3 separate regions of the Homo sapiens genome follow, and all the other regions are linked to region 2. The links are contacts of gene promoters, found by promoter capture Hi-C in blood cells and fetal thymus (Javierre and others, 2016). All regions are on one chromosome and are shown on one strand. Each heading gives the region's core, a stretch centred on a gene start or on the middle of the fragment in contact. The rest is flanking DNA. Distances are from core to core; before and after follow the strand shown. Region 1 holds the start of CITED4 (Cbp/p300 interacting transactivator with Glu/Asp rich carboxy-terminal domain 4). Region 2 holds the start of CAP1 (cyclase associated actin cytoskeleton regulatory protein 1). Region 3 has its middle 8.5 kb from the start of NFYC.

Region 1 (3,323 bases), core at 100-2,599, 820 kb before region 2:
TCAGGACAGCCACTTTCTCTTTGTGTGCTTCTCCTTATCACTGAAATGGGGCTGATAATCCATGCCCTGCCCCCAACAAAATACTTGTAGAATGTAAAGCACTTTAAAAGTCCAAGTTATTATTGCTGTTATCAAGAGAAGGCCCTTTGGGACAGAACTTAAATAGCCTTGGCCGGGCGCGGTGGCTCACGCCTGTAATTCCAGCACTTTGGGAGGCCGAGGCGGGCGGATCACGAGGTCAGCAGATCGAGACCATCCTGGCTAACACGGTGAAACCCCGTCTCTACTAAAAATACAAAAAAAATTAGCCGGGCGTGGTAGCGGGCGCCTGTAGTCCCAGCTACTCGGGAGACTGAGGCAGGAGAATGGCGTGAACCCGGGAGGCGGAGCTTGCAGTGAGCCAAGACAGCGCCACTGCAGTCCAGCCTGGGCGAAAGAGCGAGACTCCGTCTCAAAAAAAAAAAAAAAAAGAACTTAAATAGCCTTTCTTTCATCTAAGGGACACTTTTGAGCATCTACCACATACCAGGCACTGTGCTAGGCACTGTGCACACATGCCCTCACTTACCCCTCACAAAGGGTCAGTGCTGCTGTTCTTTACCTTTTACAGATGAAGAAACTGAGGCTCAGCTGAGAGTTGCAATTCATTCCATCATTAGTTCATTCACTCAGCTTTTACTAAAAGCCTGCTCTGGGCCAGGCTCTGGGCCAAGTGCTGAGAAGAAGAAGATGAACAAGTCCTTCAGGAGACGTGCCCATAAATTAATAACAACTAAGTACATGCTTCAACAGACAAGGTGCAGTGGGAACTAGAGGGGGAGCAACAGGCTCTCCTGGGGGTTATGGGAATGGACAGCTGACCTCCTGCGGGGACCCTGCACCGCTAAGGTGCATGCGCCCTGTGTAGCTGTGCAGTCTCACTTTGATCAAGGCTTTGCTGTGTATTTCCAGGAAGCCTCTTCCGCCACTGAGCCTCGGTCTCTACCTGGAAAGTTAAAAGGTTGCGTAGGCCTGACATCCTGCAGCTCTTGGGGGGCCTAAAACTCTGGCCCTCCCACCCCACCTTCTGGTCAGTTCAAGCTCTACCCCAGCCAAGTCCGATTCCGAAGCCCTGAGGGCCAGACCGAATCCCTCCGAAAGTGCCAAATACCCCGCCCCAGGGCGGTGCTCAGAGCCTGGGGCGTGGCCGGAGTCCCAAGGGGCGGGGTTCCAGTGGGAGGGGCGGGGCCAAGACCTAGATGCAGGCGTGCGCGGCCCGCCCAGAAGCGTCTCGCCCAGCCAATGAGCGTCCGAGGGCGGGGAAGCCCCGCCTCTGGGTATAAGAATACGCCGAGCCCAGCTACGCGACGCGGAGGTTTCGGAGCACTACAGGTTGCGGGCCTTTGTGACCCCAGGCTGCGGCCGCAAGGTGCGCAGTAGTGGGCTGGGCCGGGGCACCAGTCGGGTTTGGTTTTGCTCCGCCCGGCCGAGCTGCAGGGACCGCACGGTGCCCGGGTCTCCCGCCGCAGAGCAGCCGCTGGCCCGGGCCGGGGGAGCCGGCGCTGACCACCGCGCGCTGTCCCCGCAGGCAGCCGGCCTGCCGCCATGGCCGACCACCTGATGCTCGCCGAGGGCTACCGCCTGGTGCAGAGGCCGCCGTCCGCCGCGGCCGCCCATGGCCCTCATGCGCTCCGGACTCTGCCGCCGTACGCGGGCCCGGGCCTGGACAGTGGGCTGAGGCCGCGGGGGGCTCCGCTGGGGCCGCCGCCGCCCCGCCAACCCGGGGCCCTGGCGTACGGGGCCTTCGGGCCGCCGTCCTCCTTCCAGCCCTTTCCGGCCGTGCCTCCGCCGGCCGCGGGCATCGCGCACCTGCAGCCTGTGGCGACGCCGTACCCCGGCCGCGCGGCCGCGCCCCCCAACGCTCCGGGAGGCCCCCCGGGCCCGCAGCCGGCGCCAAGCGCCGCAGCCCCGCCGCCGCCCGCGCACGCCCTGGGCGGCATGGACGCCGAACTCATCGACGAGGAGGCGCTGACGTCGCTGGAGCTGGAGCTCGGGCTGCACCGCGTGCGCGAGCTGCCCGAGCTCTTCCTGGGCCAGAGCGAGTTCGACTGCTTCTCGGACTTGGGGTCCGCGCCGCCCGCCGGCTCCGTGAGCTGCTGAGGGCGGCCGGCGCCCGCCCGGCGTGCCGGAGAGGAGAAAGGGCCCGACTGCCCGCCGGACCCTGCACCCAGCGACTGGGCCCCGCGCGCGCCCTCCGCGAGGGTGGAGGCGGCGGCTGTGTGCGCAGGGCCCGGCACCGGACTGGGACCCTGGCGTCCCTCCAGGCCTTGCCTCCTGCGGGAGGACAGTTTGGCTTCACTTCTCTGACCCCAGCCTCGGCCGTAAAGTGAAAGAGACCGGACCAGCTTCAGCTTTCGGACTCTGGTTCTTGGATCGTGTCCTCTCCCCCTCGCCGCCCTCTTCCCCCAATCTGAGCCATTGCAGGCCTCTGCCTGCTGCCCCCTCTCTCCTCGGGATCGGGTCCCCAGAGCCACCATCTCCTGAGCCTCCCACCCCGCTGCCTGGGCCCTGTGGTTGCTGGGCCTCCCACCTCAAGGAGGGGAAGGTTGTACAGCCCGAACCCGTGGAGCAATGCCCTGTCTGGCCTCCAAAACCAAAATAAAACTGGGTCACTTTACAGTCTTGCCGTTTTCATTTCCTTATCACCCCGAGCCCTGACTATATTTAGCTTCCAAAGTCCCAAGGTTGCTGAAGACACTGGATGGCATGGGGGCCACAGTCCCCAGCAGTGCCCAGGAGAGGAAACCGACAGTTTCTTTCAAAAATATCTCGTGGGTTGTGCAATTGTTATGTCACAACCTGGAGGGCAGAGGCTGCCACTGGGTGGTGGGGTAACCCACTGGGCTTCCCAGCTCCTAGGGTAGGGTGGGGGGAGCTTGGTGCTCTGCCAGAGAGGAGCTGGGTGGCACCGAGTTCAGACAGCCTAGCTTTGGACCCTGACTCTCTCCTTTGCCCAAGACACCATCCGTTCTGATTTTTGAGGCGGTTTCCCAGAGGGAGATGGTCCCCGTCTCCTCAGGTAGTTACGCTGCCTTTAGCACAGTGCCAAATACCTGGGCAGTTCTCAGTAAGTGACGGCAATTATTATTCTACAAATTGGTGCTGATTTTATTCCAGGCCCTGTGTCAACCTGGTGCATGTTCTCATGGAATCACAGCCCAGGTGGGAGGAGGTGGGTGATAGGCCTGAAAACAAACTAATCTTGCTGCAAGGAAGACTGTGATGAGTTCTAGAAAACAGTGCTAAGCAGCACTTTGGGAGGCCGAGACGGGCAGATCACGAGG
Region 2 (3,380 bases), core at 263-2,762:
CCACAAAGGCTATCTCATTAAAATGTGCCTCATACATATTAAGGTCTTAATAAACGTCTGGTGGGGCCGGGCACGGTGGATCATGCCCGTAATCCCAGCACTTTGGGAGGCCGAGGTGGGGGGATCACCTGAGGTTAGGAGTTCGAGAGCAGCCTGGCCTTCACGGCGAAACCCCATCTCTACTAAAAATACAAATAAATAAATTAAATAAAAGTCTGGTAAATGATAAATGTGCTGATATGCCCCCGGATTTTCTCTTGAAGAGAGAGCCCCACAAAGAGCTTCAACTGACACAGTTCTGATGCTAACCTGTCTCAAATGTTCTCATTCCACTCTTCGAACGCATTCCTATTTATCCTTCAAAATTCATCTTAAAAACTCTGCTTCTTCAGAAGGGCTTTTCCTGAACCCCCTGTTACATACTTTCAGAGCACCCTGTTCTTTCCTAACACTCATCAACATTTATAATTACTTCTTAAACATCCCTGCAAACACTGCTAGCTCCACGCGGGCAGGGTCTACATTGTTTTGTTTTAAAGCTGCATTCCCCGCATCTGGGAAAATGCTGGCACAGAATAAACACAATTTGTTACGCTGAATTTAATCTTGTGGGGTCAGCAGAGATCTCCACTTAAAAGATGAACAAAAGGAGGCTGAAAGAAGTTTAAGGCACCTATGGCCACAGACACTCAGCACTGAGGCCAGACCAAACCTGAGCCGTCTGATTTCAGGTCCAGAAGTACATACCTTCAATGTTAGCCTGGCTTGTCAAAGTAAGAGCAGCAGCCGAGGAGGAAAGGGAGGATATCTGCCTGTAAATACAAGGATGTGCCCGCCTTTCTTTTAAAAACTCCCTAGGCATTTCAAACGGCTCAATTTGGGAGGAGAGAAAAAAAAAAGTTCCACGCAGCGCTGGCCTTTAACCTGCAGCAGCCTGCGGGGCAACACCGACCGGAAGACCATCCCAAGTTAGAGAGGTTCCGAGCAACACGGGAAGAACTGGGGCTGGTTATCTAAGGCACCAGGATCATGATTCCGATTCTTTTCCTCACTCGCTATATATCTCAGACTAGCCTCTTCTCTAGGGATCAATTTACCTATCAGTGCAATGGGAGCATCAACAGGAGACAGGGAAGACTCTCCGATCTCGGAGGTTCCTTCCAGTCAGAGCACCTCAGGAATCAGGCCTCCGCTGAAGCTGATGGGCAGCGCTGCGAAATCGGGCAGAGGGGCCTCCCCGGGGCACCCGGACTCAGCTGCTCACCCCGGCCCCACCTCAAGAGACCGCGCCCAAGAGTCCGGGTCGGCCTGAGGGCCTCAGCCCCGGCCCTCTCGGCAGGGTTCATGACACGCGCGTAGGCCAGAAGGGCCATTAACACCACCAGGGGCCGATGGGCCCCGGAAGGGACCCCAATCCCTACCAAGCTGCACACCCTCACCTCAGAGTTCCGCCTCACCTCCGGACTGCGATCAGCCGCTCTCCGCTTCCGGCAAGAACCGCCCAGCAATCTCCGCGCGACCCACTTCCGGGCCCTCACTGGGCGCGGCGCCCCCACCGGAAATGAGCCGCCGGCTGAAGCGCTAGGCTGGCCCGCGACTGGGCAGGAAGTCTCACCGCCCCGCTCGTGACTCCGCCCCTCTTCGCCACGCCCCGGAGAGAGCGGCCCGGCTCTCACAGAGGGCACTTGGGAAAGAGCCCCGCCCTCAAGGCGGGAGCGACACGGGGAGGGCGGGCTCACAAGAGAGGCCACGCCCTCGTTCCGCTTTACCTACCCGGAATCGCCCCCGAGGCCCGGGCCCAGGAAGGGCAGAAGTCCCTGGCTAAGCTCCTCTCTGGAAAGAACAGAAGAGTGACCAGTTCCTCTGTCAGTTTGGTCTCAATGGCAGAGGCCGGTTCCTTTAAGCTGCAGTCCGTAAAGGGTCTTGGAACGACTGGGGGCCAGGATTCTCTGAGGGCGGGAATCCGGGCGGCCGTCAGCTCTCGGTGGTGATCGAGGCCACGCTCCGCCTGTCTCTGGGCGTGCATACCTCGGTTTCCCCGTTTGTGACGTGGGAAGGCAATTAGTCTGGACATTGTTGTGGGAGGACTTGCGGAGACTGGGCGCAGGGCGTGGGGGTCAGTGAGGGCGCGGTGGGTCAGCCCCAGCCCGGCTGGCAGTCGCGGGGCTGGGAAGGTAGGGAACCCTCCGCTCTCACCCCACTTCCTGTTTGGTCGGTGTGTTCTGTGACCATAGATGGTCAAGTCTGGGGCCGCGCGGAAGCCTCCGCCCTGTGGTTTTGGAGCCCTTCCTCCCGGCGCGCAGGGTGTGGTCCCCGAGAATAAGATGAGCAGAATTAAAGCAGATCCTGCACCCACTCTGCTGAAATCCGGCTTCTGAGGCAGCCTCGCCCAGGGCTGGGTGGGCTCAGGCGGCTGCTACTCGGTTCAGGGGAGGTTACGCACGGTGGCTGCCGCGCGCAGGGGAGGCTTCGCTTCCGTACTCCTTGGGCCGGGAGATCCGATCTTTGTTCCCTCAAGACTCACACTCTCCAACCGGTCATTATCCTCCCACAAAGATTTATTTCTAGAAAAAATTGGCAAGTGCCACAGTTCCCGCCCCTTCAGCTGAACGACTGTGACAGCTCCGTGTTTCAAGTTGAATGCAGGCGTTATGTGCCAGAGTCAATCATTCAACAAATAAAGTTCTTAAAATAACAGCTACCATTTACTGCACGCTGACTACTTGCCAGGCCCATGCTGAGTTCTTCAAGCGTATTTTCATTTACTCCTAATAGCAACTCTCGGTGGTAGGTACCATTATGCCCTCTAGTTTTCAAATGAGGAAGCTGAATAACTTGCCAAGGTCAGAAAGTAACTGTTGAAACTTTGAAGGAAACACATCTGTCTGACTCTAAATCCCATGAGCTTAATTAGCCCCTGTGATAGACCATACTGCAGACATTTGAGGCAGATTTGAGGTGGTGAATGCCTCTGGATCTGGAGACACTGGGTTCCAGTGCTGGCATAGGCCCTCTACTAGGGGTCAGACTTTGGTCAGGTTACTTTGGACGGGTTACTGGGCCTCTTCCTAACTTTATGGCTCCCAGCATGTTTAAAAGAACATGACAACATGAAAAAATATGGTATAAAAGTCATAGTATATTTTAAATATTGACATTTAACTAAAAACACTGTCTCACACACACACAAACTCTAACTTTATTTGGACATAATCTTTGACTCTGCATTTAGTTATTCTAAATCTCTTTCTGGATTAGAGACAGAAGGAACATAGACCATACACGCATTCTAGAGGAAGAGGAGAGAGAAGAGGAAGCAGGAAGGAGAATGAAGAAAGTTTCCTCATCAGGTGGGGAATATTAATGGGGCTGTAATGAGA
Region 3 (3,536 bases), core at 748-3,247, 640 kb before region 2:
ATCTAAGCGAGGTCTCACAGTTCTGTTGCTTGAGGCCATCAAGTTACAAACATGGAGTCTATGGCTTCTCCTGCAACTTCCAGACCCTGATGAAACACCACCTCACAGAGCGTGGGATTTGGCTTCCTGAGCAGCTGCTGAAGGAGCCAGTGAAGCAACCTACTACAGAGGATTTAGCTACCCACAGAGCAAACTGATCAATGGGAGACAGGAAGGAGCTGGCTATAACAATCCACTCTTCCCTTCCTTCCTCTAATGAGCTGTTTCAAGATAAAATTTCTCCATACAACCTGTCTAGAGAGACATTCTCCATGGCCAAGTGGGTGCGCCTGTCAAGAGACTAGCTACAGCTCATTGTGAAGTAGCCAGCAAACATTTCCTTCCCTTGCTTCTCATGTTTTCCCACTTTCTCTTATCCTTAATTCTCACTACTCCATGGCTGTGCCCCTCATATAAAGCTTTAGCACTTAATCCCTTCTTCCGGCTTTGTTTTCTAGGAAACCTTGCTAAAACAGATCACAGTTTTTGAAGAGATGGGCACATCACCCAAACTAAGCTAAGAAAAGCCCTTCTAAAGATTTGAAATATATAAGAAAGACAGGATTTTTCTTCTGGAGATCTTGAGCTATGAGGAACTGAGGGCAGCCATTATTCTTGCTTCATGGAAAGAGCCTTTCTAAGAATGAAGACATCACAGAGGAAGGCAGAATTCAGACAGAGAGGGAGACAGAGTCCTGACATCCTTTGAACACCTAGATCCAACTTTCCCCAATATGTGTAACCATTTTGTCATTGCTTTATCATTCTGAAGACCAGTTTTCCCAATCCATGTCATATAAAACATGGTAACCAATTAGTCCCAAGTTGCCTCCATTCAAAAAATCATCCAGGTGACTAGATTCTTAGGCTCAATTTCAAATTTCTGGGAGGAAGAGCTCTTGTTAGAGCTAGCTTTGGCCAAATGTCCACCACTGAATCAAGTATCATTATGGAAAGGGGGACAGGGTCATGCATAAACATGGTTGTATCTACTGTAACTCTATGAATGAAGGTATGCTGGAGGGTAGAGGATAGAGTAACACTTCTCAGAAAAGTAGGAGTAAAGGATTAGGCAGACTAAACAATGTCTGTCCACTTCCTGAGAATAAATAAAGGAAAAGAGGGTAAAGAGGTCAGAGGACAGAACCTTTATCTAACCAACACTATCCAACAGAGCTTTCTGCAGTGGTAGAAATGCTTTATATCTGTGCTGTTCAATACAGTAGCCACTAGCCACGTGTAGCTGTTGAGCATTTGAAAGATGGTTAGTGCAACCAAGAAATTGAATTTTTCATTTTGTTTACATTGAAATAGCTACAGGTAGTATCTTAGTTTTCTGCTGCTATAACAAAATACCAAAGACTGGGTAATTTATAAACAAAGGAAATGTATTTGGGTTGTGGTTCTGGAGGCTGGAAAGCCCAAGAGCATGGCACCAGCATTTGCTCGACATCTGGTGAGGGCCTTCTTGCCACACCATAACGTGGCAGAAGATATCACATGGTGAGGAAGTGTGCATGTGAGAGAGGGAGGGGGGCCAAACGTATCCTTTTATCTGGAGTCCACTCCCTCCATAACTAACCCATTCCCATGCATTAATCCATTTATGAGGGCAGAGCCCTCGTGACCTCATCACCTCTTAAGTGTTCCACTTCTCAACGTTGTTAAAATAGCAATTAAATTTCAACTTGAGTTTTGGAGGGACATTCAAACCATAGCATGTAGCGAATGACTGCATATTAGACAGCATAGGTCTAGACTATTGGTCTACTTTGGGAAGCAGCATGGAATATTGTCTGCAGCATGTGCTTTGAAGTTAGCCTGAGTTCGAGTCCCCATTCCATTTACTTAACCTCTCTGAGCTAGAGAGGTGAAAGATGCAAAGAAAGTTGTATGTAATACCACAAAGAGAGAAAGAGACAAAAGATCTGCAAAAGTTCAGCCAGGCACAGTGACTCATGCCTTTGGGAGGCCAAGGCAGGCAGATCATGAGGTCAGGAGTTCAAGACCAGCCTGGCCAACATGGTGAAACCCTATCTCTACTAAAAATACAAAAATTAGCTGGGTGTGATGGTAGGTGCTTGTAGGCCCAGCTACTCGGGAGGCTGAGGCAGGAGAATCGCTTGAACCCGGGAGGCAGAGGTTGCAGTGAGCCGAGATCACACCACTGCACTCCAGCCTGGTTGACAGAGCAAGATTCCATCTCAAAAAAAAAAAAAAAAAGATCTGCAAAGGGTCAAAGAATCAGCTGGATTTGGCAATTAAGGGACTATGAGTGAATTAAGACAGAGAAGTATTAAAAGTGTGATTGTTTAAAATCCAAACCAGCTATCCATCTACCTTTTGTACATCTGCTAAATTCCTTTCCTCTGGAGGGGGACTCCAGGCAGGGAGAGAATGGGAATGCAAAAGTTACCTCGTCTCTTAATCCTCTTGGTCACATGGGGAGCGAGAACTCAAAAGTGTGTCCTGAAGATGGGGTTCCAAGCCAAAAAAAAAATCAGAACCATGGTCAGTCACGGGGTGTGAAGCCAAAGGTGGGGTTGCCTAGTCCAAGGAAGCCACAAGGAAAGAACACCTCAAATACATACCCTCTTTACATAGCACTTACACTGTGGCTAGACTGTAAGTCCTTTAAGGTTCAGGGCTAAGTGTATGATGGTACTATCAGCCCCTGGTAAGTGCCTGGTACCATAATAGGTACTTAATTAACAATAGGTACCTAAACAACAACATTGAATGAATGAATGAATGAATGAAAGTAAGCCAGTCCACTCTCTAGTGCATGGTAGACATTCCATAATATAATGTTCATTAAGTTATTAGAGGGAGGCCAGGCATGGTGGCTCATGCCTGTAATCCCAGTACTTCAGGAGGCCAAGGCAGGCAGATCACCTGAGGTCAGGAGTTCAAGGCCAGCATGGCCAACATGGTGAAACTCCATCTCAACTAAAAATACAAAAATTAGCTGGGTGGGGTGGTGGGCACCTGTAATTCCAGCTACTTGGGAGGCGGAGGCAGGAAAATCACTTGAACCTGGAAGGTGGAGGGTGCAGTGAGCCAAGATGGCACCACTGCACTCCAGTCGGAGTGACAAGAGCAAAACTCAGTCTCAAATAAATAATAAAATAAAAAGTTATTAGAGGGAGAAAACCCTGTATTGAGAAGCTACCAGGGAATCTTTTTTGACCTGGAAACTCTGTTTGTCAGGTCCTTGCCTGGCACAGAGGAATTCTTCAACAAGTGATCTCTATGATAATTATTATTAAATAGGGAGTAAGGTTTTGTATATGGCCTGGGGAAGGCCTTGATAATAATAAGAGCTAAAATGTGTTGATCTCATTTAATCCTTAAACCAACTCAATGAGACAGGTTTTATTAGATTAATTTTACAGGTGATAATTTTTTTTTCAGATGAGAAAATTTAAAGAAGACGTGTAATTTCTCCAAAGTCGCCCAGCTCAGAAATGGTAGGACTGGTATTGAACCTAAGCTTA

The links. Contacts are between HindIII fragments. The CHiCAGO score rates a contact against its expected background, and 5 or more counts as called.
Region 1: the fragment with the promoter of CITED4 here is called in contact with the fragment with the promoter of CAP1 in region 2 in 1 of 17 cell types (neutrophils); the score reaches 5.5 in neutrophils.
Region 3: a fragment that was not itself captured here is called in contact with the fragment with the promoter of CAP1 in region 2 in 1 of 17 cell types (neutrophils); the score reaches 6.7 in neutrophils.

The regions. Positions count from the first base shown.
Region 1 is chr1:40,860,389-40,863,711 of GRCh38, reverse strand. CITED4 (Cbp/p300 interacting transactivator with Glu/Asp rich carboxy-terminal domain 4) reads left to right here and starts at 1,349. Exons shown (of 1, transcript NM_133467.3): 1 at 1,349-2,658. The coding sequence starts at 1,585. The coding sequence ends at 2,139. It overlaps LOC124904157 (a long non-coding RNA gene), which reads right to left and starts at 1,328. Exons shown (of 3, transcript XR_007066025.1): 1 at 602-1,328. RefSeq lists an enhancer at 963-1,022 and silencers at 1,123-1,322, 1,483-1,562. The HindIII fragment of the contact is 10,972 bases long and covers 1-3,323 here.
Region 2 is chr1:40,038,861-40,042,240 of GRCh38, reverse strand. CAP1 (cyclase associated actin cytoskeleton regulatory protein 1) reads right to left here and starts at 1,512. Exons shown (of 13, transcript NM_006367.4): 1 at 1,440-1,512. LOC105378669 (a long non-coding RNA gene) reads left to right here and starts at 1,795. Exons shown (of 3, transcript XR_001738013.3): 1 at 1,795-3,350. RefSeq lists enhancers at 1,213-1,302, 1,373-1,572, 1,226-1,860, 1,823-1,892, 1,861-2,494. The HindIII fragment of the contact is 17,502 bases long and covers 1-3,380 here.
Region 3 is chr1:40,681,468-40,685,003 of GRCh38, reverse strand. It overlaps a transcript of RIMS3 not described here. Among named protein-coding and RNA genes, the nearest start is that of NFYC, 8.5 kb to the left of the region's middle. The HindIII fragment of the contact is 3,074 bases long and covers 461-3,534 here.